2 separate regions of the Homo sapiens genome follow, and region 2 is linked to region 1. Evidence: promoter capture Hi-C in human tissues and cell types (Jung and others, 2019). All regions are on one chromosome and are shown on one strand. The core of a region is centred on a gene start or on the middle of the fragment in contact, and the rest is flanking DNA. Distances in the headings are between cores, read along the strand shown.

The links. Contacts are between HindIII fragments. The study calls those that stand out against the background at their distance.
Region 2: a fragment that was not itself captured here is called in contact with the fragment with the promoter of BRINP1 in region 1 in 1 of the 25 tissues and cell types used here (H1 embryonic stem cells).

Annotation. Positions count from the first base shown.
Region 1 is chr9:119,365,483-119,372,494 of GRCh38, reverse strand. BRINP1 (BMP/retinoic acid inducible neural specific 1) reads left to right here and starts at 3,060. Exons shown (of 8, transcript NM_014618.3): 1 at 3,060-3,439. RefSeq lists enhancers at 2,096-2,616, 2,617-3,139, 3,140-3,661, 6,563-7,012. The HindIII fragment of the contact is 11,628 bases long and covers 1-7,012 here.
Region 2 is chr9:118,980,836-118,987,847 of GRCh38, reverse strand. No RefSeq gene overlaps it. Among named protein-coding and RNA genes, the nearest start is that of LINC02578, 300 kb to the right of the region's middle. The HindIII fragment of the contact is 7,372 bases long and covers 1-7,012 here.

The DNA.
Region 1 (7,012 bases), core at 1,811-4,310:
AAATTCGGTGGAAATAGCAAACAGCTGCTCACCAACACCCACCCCAAAGAAAGAACAAGACATTTCTCACATATCTCAAGCTGCCTTAAATGTTCTTTCTTTGGCAAAGAAGAAAAAAAGAAATATATTTTTGGCCTCTAAACCTTTTCCCACCCGTGTGTATTTCTGCAAAAATGTTATCCATATGGTTTTGATTGCATTCTCCATAAGTCATTAGAAATGCTTTGCACTGAGAACTTTTCTGATGACCAAGGTGTCTTCGGAGACATTTTAAAATGGCCCTCTTAGCCTTTCTTCATAGAAACAGGAAAGCTAAACTGAGCCAAATGCAAATGAACTAAGACCTGGAAAGGTTGGCATTTTATTCAAAACTCAGAAACCATAAGGCTCGAGTGAGCCTTAAATCTGTCCATGCAAAGTCTTCACCTCCTTCTCCAGGGACAAGATACACTAAATCATCCATTGGGATGGGACACAGATAATGCAATGGATCCAGACATCTAAGTTGATATTTAGGGTTGGGTGCAGTGACCCCATAAAATTCCAAGAACTTCCAATCACCCCAGGGCTTCCCCATTATTCCCAGAGGATAAAGATTTTGGACTTGGACTTGGGTGTTGAATTCCTGACTCCATCACCTACTAGCTATATTTTGGCATATAGCTAGTTTGGCATATACTCAAGTTTTTCAAGACTCAATTTCCTATGCCATAAAGATGGGATAGTATTATCTATTCATACTGCAAAGTATTTTCAGAACTGTAAGCAATAATATTCAGAACATTGCAAATAAAATGCTTGGTGCACGGTAAAAGTTCAAAATTCTCTCTCCTCTTTCTCTCTGTGTAGTATTGGTTGGAACTAGAAGAGCTCTTTTTTTCTTTAGGGAAATATTGACTGGGTGGGGTGAGGAAGAGAAAGACTGGACAGTATTCCAAAGCATTAAGTCCCCACTTTCTAAGGTATGTAGACCACAACCCATCTTGGGAGATTGATTACAAGGAAAGGGTTAAGAAGAATCAGTCAGAACTTTGGTCTTCACCTGAAGTTGCCTGACTACGTTGTCTCAGATTGATTTCAGAACTGCATTATCAGCAGGGCAGCTGTTGCCTACTAACAGTCATGGAAGTAGATCTCAGCTGGGGGATGATGGGGAAACAAAGAGAAAGATAGGGACGAATAAAGGAAGGAATGGGGCACAGACAGAAAGAGAGAGAGAGAAAAGAAAGAAAGGAGGAGAGGCAAGAGATAGTGACCTGGGGTTTCATACCGCGGTGGGTGGGAGAAGGAGTGTGTGTGGTGGGCGTATTTCTTCGTGGTCAGAATCAAAGTCAGAACTGACCTGGGGAACCTGTGTTCAAGACCTGAACCTGGACCAGAAGCCAAGGGAAAGAGAAAGTTGCCCAAGAAAAAAGGGAGAAATTTCCACCAGGCGAAAATAGAAATCGCTGACTGGGTTTGTGGCTGGAGAGCTGTCCGTGGTGCTGACTCCTCCTCATTGGGATTCCAGTGAAGGCTGAGAAGCTCTGCACTGGCTGCTCCTCCTCTCCCTTTCCTCTCCCCTCAGTCCTGACCTTCTGAGACCCAGGATCATTCTGGCTAGCTCGATGTCTTCTCCTCTCTTTCTCCCTTTCTCTTTGTCGATTAAATAATTTTTCCCGAGTTCCCAGTTCATCACTCAAACATTTCTCTTCCATTTTGTTTCAAGACTCCTCTTCCTCCAATTAGTTCACTGGCTCCTAGATTGTTCTAGGCCTCCCTGGTGGTCACATCTCTCTCTTATCATCCTTTGAATTAAAAAACAAACAAAAAACATACAATGGCAATCATAAAAGCAGACAACATGCACTGAGCACTCACTAGGTGTCAGGGAGCAGTCTAAGTGCCTTTGCATACATTAACTCATGAGCAGTCTAAGTGCCTTTGCATATATTAACTCATTACAATTCCACATCAACCCTATTAGATGGGTAGATATATTATTATTCTATTAAACAGACAAGGAATTGAGGCTTAAGGGGTAAGTGATTTCACCAAGACCAGACAGCTACAGGACTCCAACCTCTCTGGAGCCTGCACTTCTACTGAATCTGGCTCTTTTACATATTCCAACACCTTTTCCTATGACTTCCTGCCCCTCCATCTGGTAGCCTTAATGCTTTCTATTCTTGCCTAATCTTCAGGGGACTAGGGATCTGCATTGCTGATTTGGTTTAAATCAGAAGGGAAGCAAAGTAAACAAACATACCAAATGTGCGCTGTGTGGGAATTATCATACGAGGGCTTTATTTTCTGCTTCAGGAAGAGGCCCTATGTTAGCAGCCCCAGCCTGCATTCAGGCTGATTGCAGAGTATTTTGCTTTTTATTTTCATGTCTTAGTCCCTGTACCCTCGCCCCTTCCCCGCCTCTGGTGGTCTCCAGAGAACTTCGTGTCCCCTCAGCTTCTCCCTCCTACATCCTGCCTACGTAGAGAAGCTCTTGCTTCATTCTGGGAGGTTACGTGGGCTCTCGCCTACACACCGAGAGAAACAAACAGTGTCAAACACTCACAGAGAGACGCGCAGACACAAACGGACCCACACGGGCAACTCCCGAGACAAAACCCACACTCGATGGATCCACGCGGCCGTGGAAACACCTGCCGCCCCAGAAACACTCAGGTACTCGCGACACACACAGTACAGTCACGCTTAAGGGCACCAGGATTCCGGGTTTGCGCGTATGCGCGGTCCCTTTGGATGCTCGTGCGCATAGACACAACACCCTACACGCCCCAGACCCACGAAACTCCCTACGGCTCAGCCCCAGCCCACCCGGGCCGCCCTTCCCTCGAGGCGGCCTCCCGTCTCTCCTCCTCTCGCTTCTCCTCCTCCTCCGCCTAAAGATGTACAAAACACTCCTCGGAAGCAACCCCGGCGTTCAGCTCCTCCCTCCCCGCCCCCCGGCCGCCGCTCCCCCATTCATTTTCGGCCGTCGCCGGCTAAGTCCCTCCCCCGGCGTAGCCCGGCCTCCGCCGCTCCCCGCCCGGAGACCGCGGCGCACTTGGACTTCCCTCTCCATTCGCCAGCCGCCTCGCTCCCGGACCCCACGGCTGCAAACTGATCTGGCGCGCGGGGAGGAGGAGAGCGCAGGCGAGCGAACCCGCGAGAGAGGGAGAGAGCGAGCGAGCAACAGCGAGAGCGAGAGCGAGAGAGCCGGGAGGCAGAGGGAGTAGTGACCGCCTTCCGGAGCCGGGATTCATGCCTGTCCTCGGGACCAGCGAAGGGGACTTTACGGCTGAGTATGAGCCAGGCTGCTAGGAGCCAGGTACCCCCACGCCTGCAGTCCCCGCGCCGTGCCCGGAATGCGAGCTGCACGCAGGGCTCTCCCAAGTTCCCACCGAGCCGAATAAAAAGCGTCCTCCCGCAGCTCTCCGCCAAAGACGGACATTGACTCCAGGTAAGGCGGCGCCGGGTGCAGCGCCCCGCAGCCCCGCTGCCCTTGGACCCGGCCCCGGGCCGCATTCGGGGCGTCCCCGCGCTCCTCTGCCCCTCCCCCTACCGGCACCCTTGTCCGCTCTTCACCTGGCCGCCCCGCCGCCTCCAAGTCTTCTCCAGTTCTAGGGAGGGGGTTCCTGTGCCTGGGGCTCAAAGGGCTAATTGCGGGTTTGAGTGAGTGGCGTGTGTGTCCCCGCGCGCTCCCGACGTGTGCACCATGGTGGGAACTTGATGTGGTGCTAGTGTGTTTGCGTGTGCGGCGTCGTTTGCGTTTGATGCGTGTGTTCGTGGTGTGTGTGTGTGTCCGTGTGTGTAAGGGAGGGGTGAAGAGAGAGAGGTCCTATAACCTACTTACGGCGCGATGTGTGTGTGCATGTTTGTACGTATGTGTTTGTATGTGTGCCCTCGTGTGTCTTTTTAATTAGGTCTCTCCAGCTTACACGGAATGGGACCCTTACTATAGGATCACGTAGTCACCGGGAAACCCGCTGTGGACTTCCTCTTGGGGCTCTGGGCTTGGGGTTTGGGGAGGATTATGGGGCTGTAGATGGCACCTTATTTAGCCCAATGTTGGTACGCTTGAAGGAAAATTCCTCCAAACGGTGGAATCCTGCTACACTGGGACCCACAGCTTAATATGAAAGAGACATGGCCAACCCCCGAGGCAAATGAGACGCTGTCACTTTAAATTCTACACTGGGCAGACTCCAAGATTCTGATGGGAATTTGGAGACACTGGATAGTGGGTGACAGAGAAAGGGGGAAGTCAGCGGTGGGCTCCTTATCTGGGGCTTGGAAAGTCTGGGATAGGGATTTACCCTGCATCCCCGTTTGCAATCAACAGAGCCCCTCCGGCTTCTGTTGGTTTTGGGGAGGATCTGGCAAGTTTGCATGGATCCCCCTCAGGGGAAAGGAGAAAGCGTCCTCGGGGACTTGCTCATCCATCACAGTTGCAAAGGGTCTCAGAGGAAATTTCATCTGGGGCGGCTGTGGATGATATGGAAGGAGATGGATGGGGCACTTTCCTAAGACAGATTCGTCTTTCTTTCCCCATTTCAGGCGGGGAAGCCCCCAGAGAGTCTCTCCCTAAATATGCCTCTCCATGGCTCCCCTGGAGTTAGGGGGATATTGAGAGAAGGCAGAGAGGTGGAGAGGGAGAGAGAGAGAGCAAGAGCGAGAGAGAGGGAGACAGAGAGAGAGAGTGTTTCAGTACTGAGGGAGATCTACAATTTGAAAAGGGGCTGTGAGTGTGGAACCCATGACAGAATGTGGCAGTAATTGACTTAAACTGCTGTCGGTTTGCACCTCGCGTCTCTCACTTGGCTCCAAAATACTGCCAAGGGCAGGGGGGCGGTGGAGGAATCTCAGCCAGGAAGGTAGTTTGGGTCAAGGCCCTCTTTCTTCTTTCCTCCATCTCCTGGGAGGCTCTTTAGGTAGGTCCCTTGGCCACCCTGGCTTGGTACTGTTGGGCTTGGGCTCTGGGGCCAGCCATTGATTTGATTCCCAGCTGCCTCTTAAAGGCTTGCCCTACTCAGCAAAAATGCTGAGTTTTACTGCTGTTAGCATGGCTTCCAGACTCGGCAGCTGTTACTTTCTCAAGGTAAGCGGCAGCCGTTCTGCTCTCAGGCAGGGAGGCTAGGAGAAGACAAGGGCTGTGACGCTGGGACACAGCCTCTTGTCTAGCTCAGCACGGAGGGGCCGCTGAAAAGCCCTCTTAGGGGAAAAAAGTAGAAATATATTTGGCCTAAAAAATGTACACATATATTCTAGGAAGATATATATATATATATATATATCAATCACACACACACACACACACACACATGTGTTCATATTCTGGGGAGAGATAAAAGCAAACATGTATTTGTAGGAACCTGCCCTAGTGGGTGGGTTCTACCTGCAGGCACTTGCAGACATACCATTCTCTGTCCAGAGGCTGATACCTCAGGCTGAAGCCTTCACATAGCCACAGAGAATCTCCTTCAGGAAACTCATGTCAGGGCAGAGCTCCCTGGATTATCTTGGGTAGGGGGTACTAGGGCCAAGGAGGAGACCCATTTTTGGGAACTGCCTCATTTTCTCTCTTTCCTAATTCACAGACGATCGAAACTGGAAGGAATATTAAAGAGCAGAAAGGCAGGACTCTGTGGCCTAAAGAGGGAATGAGAATTCCCCAACATTCAGTAGTGGGTTAGTGGCATGCCCAGGACTAGAATCTAGGCTTATCAATCAGCTAGATCAATACCCTTTCCACTCCTCCCAGCAATATACACTCTAGGACTGTATATTGCTCCCACCCCTATCTTGCCAACCTGCCACCATGACCCCTACCAAGACAATCGCTTGTCTTCCCTCATCAAACTTCACATTTTCAGAGATGCATTTCAGGGTTTTTCTATCTGGAAACATGGCCCTGAAGAGAAAAGATCCAATGCCTCAATCACTATTCCCGAAAGACACACACACACACACACACACACACACACACACACACACACACACACACACACACACGGTGGTGGGGGGAGGACTGAGAGAGAGACAGAGAGAGAACATAGATTCCTTCTCCAATGTCTTTAGGGAATTACCGACAAGCAAGGACCCAGTACTGAGTGTGACTGGTAGGCAGAACCCAGCAAAGTGTCTGGTCTGTATCTAAGATTTTTATTAAGGAATGCACTGGTTTCCAGAGAGCAAAATGTACACCCATCTACCAGTGCAAATACTTCAGGCAAATTAATTTCTTTATATTAATTAGAATCTCACCCCTAGACATTAATACATATTACAGGCACAGAAGCATATGCAAGCACACATGCATAGGTGTGCTTATACACACATGTGCACACAAAGATCCAGAAACCTTTCCTGCTTGCTACATTTCCAAAAAAGAGAACCTCCACACCAAATTGTGTTCTCCCATATAAAGCATCTCCCATGTGAAGAGTAGGACCCATAAACTCCAGGGAAGGAGAAATGTAAAGCCCTGTGAAAGAGAGACCCTGGAGAAGTCAGAATCGAGTTCACTCAAAAGCGTGCTCTTAGACTTCTAGATGCCTGTTTCGGGGTGCAGGCAGATACTGAAAAACATGGGGGTTTTAGGCCCATCTGCAATAGAGCCTTTTCCATGCAGGATTTTCCGGGGCTAGATGGCACTTTAGCTCCCAGAAGGGGGAGCTGTGACTCCATTTCAACCAAGGAGAAACAGCTCAGAGATGCCAAATCAGCTCTTGGGCCCCCGTTGAGTTTAGACGACCCAGCTCAGGCTGCAATGAGTATCTTTGCCGCTGGTACAGGCAAGAATTGTAAAAACACCCTCCCCTGATAGGTTCGAATTCAACATCTCTTTCTTAGTGCTTGCAAGAGTTTATGTTATGGATCATAAAGTCCTCTATTTTTCTGAAAAGGTCTTTGCCCAAAGGCCCCTTCAGTTGTGCAAGGAGACATTTTTTGATTTGCAACCTGTCTCTTTTCCCCTCCCAATTCCTTAGAGGAAATCACCAGTACATTATCACTTGAATGGGCCATTAAGGTT
Region 2 (7,012 bases), core at 2,429-4,928, 390 kb after region 1:
CCACAATTGGATAAACTAGTTTTGCCTAATAAATCTCTGCATATGCATGTCTGTGTGTATGCATGTATTAGTGTATGTGTGCATAAAAGTGTATGTGTGTCTCATACTGGTTCTCCTCTGATTGAATCCTGATACATCTTCAATGTAAAAAGACAAGAAACAAATATACACACACACACACACATACATGTTTTAGACTCTCTGAGAGGAAACACAGAAATCATTAACAGCTATTGTCTCTGTGGAGGAAATCTATGGATTTAGGAGACAGAAACAATGGTGGAGGATCAATGTATTTGTAAACTTTTATATTTAACCTTGTGCTCTAAGTTTTTGAAAAGGTCATGCTTATTTTTTTCTTTACTGTGGTTAACAAAACACGTTTTATAACATTTACCATCTTAAGCATTTTAAGTGTACAGTTCTCTAGTGTTAAGTGTATTCACACTGCTACGAAATAGCTCTCCAGAACTTTTTTAATCTTGTGAAACCGAAACTCTATACCCTTTAAATAGCAACTGTCCTTTTCCTCAACCTCCAATGACCTATCCCACTTTCTGTTTCTACAAATTGAACTACTTTAAATACCACATATAAGTTTAATCAGAACGCTTGTTGTCATATTTAATTTTAATACAATGTTTGAAAGTGCTGCAAAAGTACAGGGTTTATCCAGTAATAACTTTTCTCTCCAGGGTAAGACTCTCATGAGTATTGGTTGACTGCTTGATTAAATGTTGTCTGTCACTTAAACACAAAACTTACTTTATAGTTAACTTCCATTTATTCCACAAATATTCAATAACTGCCAAAAAGTCATTACCAATAAGCCACTGAGTCGGATAGCTCAGGATATGAAGATGAATAAGGGGAAATAATAAAAGTTTTATTGATCTTATGGGTTGTCTTTGGAGCTACTGAGATAATGGATGTAATGTGACCACCACAGTTGTGGTATTATTAGTAACAAGAGCTAAGGTAGAGACCAAGGAGGAAAATTTTTATACTCTACTGCAAATCTGCTGATTGAATCTGAGGAAGTCATTCACCACTCGTCTGGATGCTTGTAGAGATAGACATTAGAGCTATACACACATTGGGTTGCATTGATTGATAAGTCATGTGCTCTTGTATATAAACAATTGAGGTATGCATTTTACCTTCCTTTAGATAAAGGAAAAGACAGGACGAGAGTGCATAATGCACTAGAGGCTGGTTTATTCTTTGTTGTGTTTAATCCTGATTCTTTGGACAACTGAATATTTTAAAAATTCCCTTTGTTCTTCTTCTTTCATCGAAACAGGCTATTATTACTATTATCAAAATGATCATCTTATGAATGATAATTTTAGCCACTCATTGTGAATATACTCTGTTACAGATACTAGTCAAAGTCTTTACATGATATATTTATTTAGCCTTAACAAAACTCCTATAAAGTAGGTTAGTGTTATTGTACCCATTTTTTCCAATAAAGAAACCAAGGCTTAGAAATGTCATTAAATGTGCATTATGGTCATGCACAGTCCAGATCCTTTGTTACTGTATGTGCTGCTCTACCAGGTCATGTGTTATGGTGGGCAAGGGTGTATGGAGATGAGGAAGATCCAGCCTCTAACCTTGGAGATAAGTGGGAGGCAGCAAATATAAACAATGAATTATAAATCAAAGCAAGACGGCATCAGGGTCTCAAGAAACATGCAAGCAAAGGAAAGCACAACAGAGAAATGTCAGCTCTTGCTGACCTCCTATATGGGAAGCCACATGTGCTTATAACAAAGCTGTCATCATTCAAAACAGATGTCCTTTTGGCAAACACTTTTAGAATCAGTTTAAATTACACTGAATGCATACACACATGTGCAAATAAACACATTATTTGGTAACCTCCTGACCCTTCCAGTTCTATACTAGGATTACTTAGTTTTTCCACTCTCTGGTTCATATTGAGAGGTTATTCAATTAAAATTAAAGAATATATCTTAACAAATAGTATGGATTTTGGATTTCAGAAGATCTGAAATCAAATACTACTGCATGAGGAAGTTATTTAACTTCTTCAGTACTTAAGAGTCCTTGTTTATTAAAAAGGGAAATTACAGTGTGATACCAACCTTATGAAATAAGATAACTCAAACAACATTATTAGCATCATGGCTGGCACATAGCAAGTGCCCAGTAAATATATGCTATGTTTGAGTCCTTAATAAATGACCCAAGCACCTTTTGAAGGATTAAGCCAGTAGAGGTTAAAAAAAAAGCCTGTTATATAAAACCTTACTCCATTTTGTGTGTGTGTGTGTGTGTGTGTGTGTATGTGTGTGTGTAGAGAGAGAGAGAGAGAGGTGCTAAGCCATGTTTCTTTAAAATCTTACTCTGCAAAGTATAAGATACATGGGCTATGTAAATTTTGGATAAAAGCAAAGTAAGTCTGGTTTGTGTAATCCCTTTGTACATTCAGTGGGAAAGTGAGCTAAAAAATGAAACGGTATGTTGGTAAACTCTGAACTAAGTACCAAAGCTGAACTAATCCAAGTCTTCTATATACTCACAGCTTGGAGTTAACCTTGTCAGACCTCAGGATTTCAGCACTGACAAGTTTATTCCTATCTTTCATCAGCTATACCATACTCTCCAGCTGTGGGCATTGTATTCCTCCAAACTTCTCCTTCAGTCACTGATACAGAAGCGGGCTGCCAGGTTGTCAGTGGATGGCTTCTGAATTGGGATGAGGATCAGACATGCACATTCAAATCAACTTGCTTTTCGAAGCAATTTTCTCTCTGCCTTCCCCTCCCAGATGCAAGCTGGAGTCTGGAAACCGCTTGCATATTACGGCTGTTATAGAACCAAGCTATAATTTTCAGGCTAATGGAAGATGTATTGGCAAAAGTTGACATTAAGTGGAACTAATTGCACTGTAACTGCTAAATAACTAAGAAATAACTACCCTGTAATTTATGGTGCAGTGTGGACTATTCAGTAACTTTGGAGCTCTTCATATAGCAAGGAGCTCAGTGATGCATGAGCTGCCCAACTTTCCACCATTCAGAGGGCCTCAGAAGCTGAAGATTGTGTGTTGTGCAAACATGCAAGGCTGCAGTTTATAAAGACAGCCTGCCTTACTTAGGGATAATGGCTTCACTCCAGTACTTAGTGAATGAGAATTGTGCCTGAGAGAGTCTTAGTTGCAGGTCTATAGTAGGTTGAAATCCCAAGCCTAGTGCATACGTATACAGTATGCCTTTTATGCTGTGATTCTGCTAATGGATGGACATTCTTCCATGGACAAAATAAATTAAAGGAGAAAATAAGGGCAAGCGATGAGGCATAAAGGGTGTTACTCTCATCTAAACATGACAGCCCTCACGTCTAGTTCACAACCGTCTTCTAACCATAGCCCTAATACGTGACTCCATTAATTTTAACATTAACTATTGTGATAACCTTCTAACCGGTCCCTCATGACTCATTTGTCTTTCCCACTGCAGGTGTGTCCCCAGTCCATTTCTGCACAGTTACTACTTACCCTCTAAAATCGGACATATGCTCAGACCACTTCCTCTGTTTAACGTCCTTAAATGATCTCCTACTGTCTAAAATGTCATTTTTCAAAGCTGTGATCCATGTAACACTAATCACAAGAGATGCATTTCTAAAACAATATATATCTGGTTAAATATATTTTTAAAACGCTGAATACTATATTCTCCTCTTGGAAAATTACATCTTAAAGTTATAATAAGTCATGTAGTGAAGAATCTTGTTTAATTTTGGTAAGTTTGCTTTGCTCAAAGTCTGACCTCAGGAATCTGTGTGTATGCATAACTGCACACATGTGTGTGTGTCTGTGAGAGACAGTTTGTATATGTGTCTCCTCTAAATCTAATGTTGAAATCTGATTCCCATTGTTGGAGGTAGGGTCTGGTGGAAGGTGTTTGGGTCATGGAGGCAGATTCCTTATGAATGGCTTGGTGCCATCCCCAAGGTAAAGAGTGAGTTCTTTATTAGTTCACATGAGAGCTGGTGGTTTAAAGAAATCTGGCATCTCTCTTGCTCTCTCTCTTGCCAGCGTGACACGCCTGCTCCCCCTTCATCTTCTGCCATGAGCAAAAGCTTCCTGAGGGCCTCACCAGAAGCAGATGCTGGTGCTGTGCTTCTTGTACAGACGGCATAATTGTGAGCCAAATAAACCTCTTTTATTTATAAATTATCCAGCCTCAGGTGTTCTTCTATAACAATGTAAAACGGGTTAACAGTGTGTGTGTGTGTGTGTGTGTGTGTGTGCGCGCGCGCGCGCATGTGTGTTTAATACCTTTATAATCCTATGCCCCTATATACCTTGGTATTCCCTGGAAAGAACTTTCAAGAAATGCTGTCCCTATTTTAGATCCCAGCTTTTTAATGTACATTTTTCTTTGATGACTTTATTTGAATCTGTTCTTTCAGACACAGCCCATGGACACTGTCCCCATGAAACTTCTTCTTTCCTGCCCAGCCAGAGTTTGTTGCTCCTTTGGGTTCTAATAGGGATTTGTCTTGATCCATGCACTTGTTTTGTAATTATTTGCCCTCTTGAAGTAAGCCAAGATTTTACAATTTTGGTACTGTTGACATTTTGGACCTGAACATTTTTTATTGAAGGGAGCTATTCTTTGCATTCTATAATGTTTAACAACATCCCTGGTCTGTACTTTCTAGATGCCAATAACTCCAACACCAGCTCACCATCCCAGTATGACAATAACAAATATCTCCAGATATTGACAAATGTCCTCTGGTGGAGGTTGGGGGGAGCAAAATAACCCCTTGTTGAGAACCACTGGTGTCAGTTGTGAGCTCCTAGAGGCCAGAAGTTTTATCTTCCTCGTTCATGTATCTTTACACCTTATATGCACGGTTGGTTATATATAAATATTTAATGAACAGTTATTTTTCCCTAAATCTTTGCTAACTACAGAAACACTGACAATGAATTAAAAAATTACTTCATTACAATTGATGTCTGCATATAGCATTATAATAATCATTAAATTACTGTCATCCAGCCTCATTTTCAGAAGTTTACTTATTTTTGAGAGATTTATTGGAAAAAAACAAAAAGAAAAAGTGAAAGTATATTGTTGATATGGTAATAGTTGGAGCAAAATATTATGTAATAATAGCTCCTATGTTTAGTGCTTTTGCATTGATCAATTTACCTTCTTATCCTCAATTTCTTCATTTATAAAATTGATATTCTGCTACCTTCTCCATCAATCACAAATAGTTTCTCGGGAGATCAATTAAGACACATGTTTTAGAAAGACTTTGAATATTTTAGAATACTCAAGAAAAGAGATGATAATCTTTGTTTTATTCAACATGTCTGAGGACAAGAAGATGCTATCCTTCATAAGTTCATTTTTCTCCAGATAACTCAAATATAACTCCCTACAGACCAAAAATGGTTTTTAAATTTTAATTTAACAATTTTAGATAGAAGCTTCTGTGAGTTACTTTACTAATTTTCTATTTTTTAGTAATTGCATCATGTTACATGTAATTGAAGTATTATTTTATGAAATGGAATCATCATTACAAACATTCATGTGCATGCTGAATCATTTCAACCTCTTTCTAGAAGGCTCAGAATGCTGTAACTTCTACTATTATTCCTTAGTTCTATTTGTTTTGTATTTGTTTTGTATCATTCTTACTTTCACCCATTAGTTGCATACCTGGAGCAGTCCCTCTTATTGTTTTCATTGTGTATTTGCCTAAAACTTATCTTAAATAGTGCTGATTCTGCCTGTCTTCTATAACGATAAAAAACAAGTAACACAGATATGTTCCATTTACTTAAAAGTAAAGTGAAAATAAATAGGGTCTGAGGATATTTTCTAAAGAATATACATGAACATTACTGCACAGATACTAGGTACCAATTTTTAACTGCTCATAAGTCTTTTACTATTTCACCTTTTAAACTTTCAAGTAGTATTATTATAAGGAAATGACATTGTTGTTTGGGTGGGTAGCACAGGCAAAGTAGGGATTGTGTAATATTTCCTGTAGAGCCAGAAGCAGTGAGAGTAGGGAAGGATGGAAAAGAAGAAGACAAGAAAGGATTTAAAAAAGAATCAATGGAATATCAAAGTCAAATGAAAGGGAGGAGATTTTGGAAATGGATTTGCTCCTTTAGACGATTTATTCCACCTATATTATTATCATGTGGTAGAAAAATATTCTTCAAAGGAGGATTCTTTGAGAATGTGTAAGAACGTTTCTCAGGTGAAGAGGTTCTTTCTGTTTTTACTATTTTTAGCCAGACTAACATCTGGTATATCAAATAACGGTTATCTTGAAAAACAGAATGCCTGCATCCACATGTAACAGCACTTTCCTGGTATCAGAGACCCTCTCTGGAAGGAACTAATTGATTTTCTCTAGGGAGAAAAAAAAATGTAGACTCCAGTTCTTAGTTTTCCCATTGTTCTAGGTTAGGCTTCTGATAAGAAAGCCTTATCAGATACAGTTGTCCCTTGGTAGCTACAGGGGATAAGTTCTAAGACCCACTCCAGGATACCAAAATCTGGGGATGCTCAGGTCCCTTATATAAAATGACATAGTATTTGCATATGACCCATGCACATCATCTTGTACATTTAAATTATATCCAGATTACTTACAATACCTAATATAAATGCTATGTAAATAATTGTTAAGCTTTATTGTTTTTAAGATTTGTGTTGTTTTTTATTGTCATGTTTTTTTTTAAATTTTTGATCCAAAGTTGATTGAATCCACGAATGTGGAACCCATGGGTATGGGGGGCTGATTATATTCTCTTCTCCAGTATTCTCCATCTACTGTTGCAATGAGCTCAATGAAGCAGACAGTTAGTAATCATTAATACCCGCCTCTACCTTTGCTATACTTACTGTCCCAATTGCTTGACAAAACTTGAGAAGATCTTCACAATCTGAGCTGGAAAACTTTTTGTTTCTGAGGATTTTGATCTGTAACATAA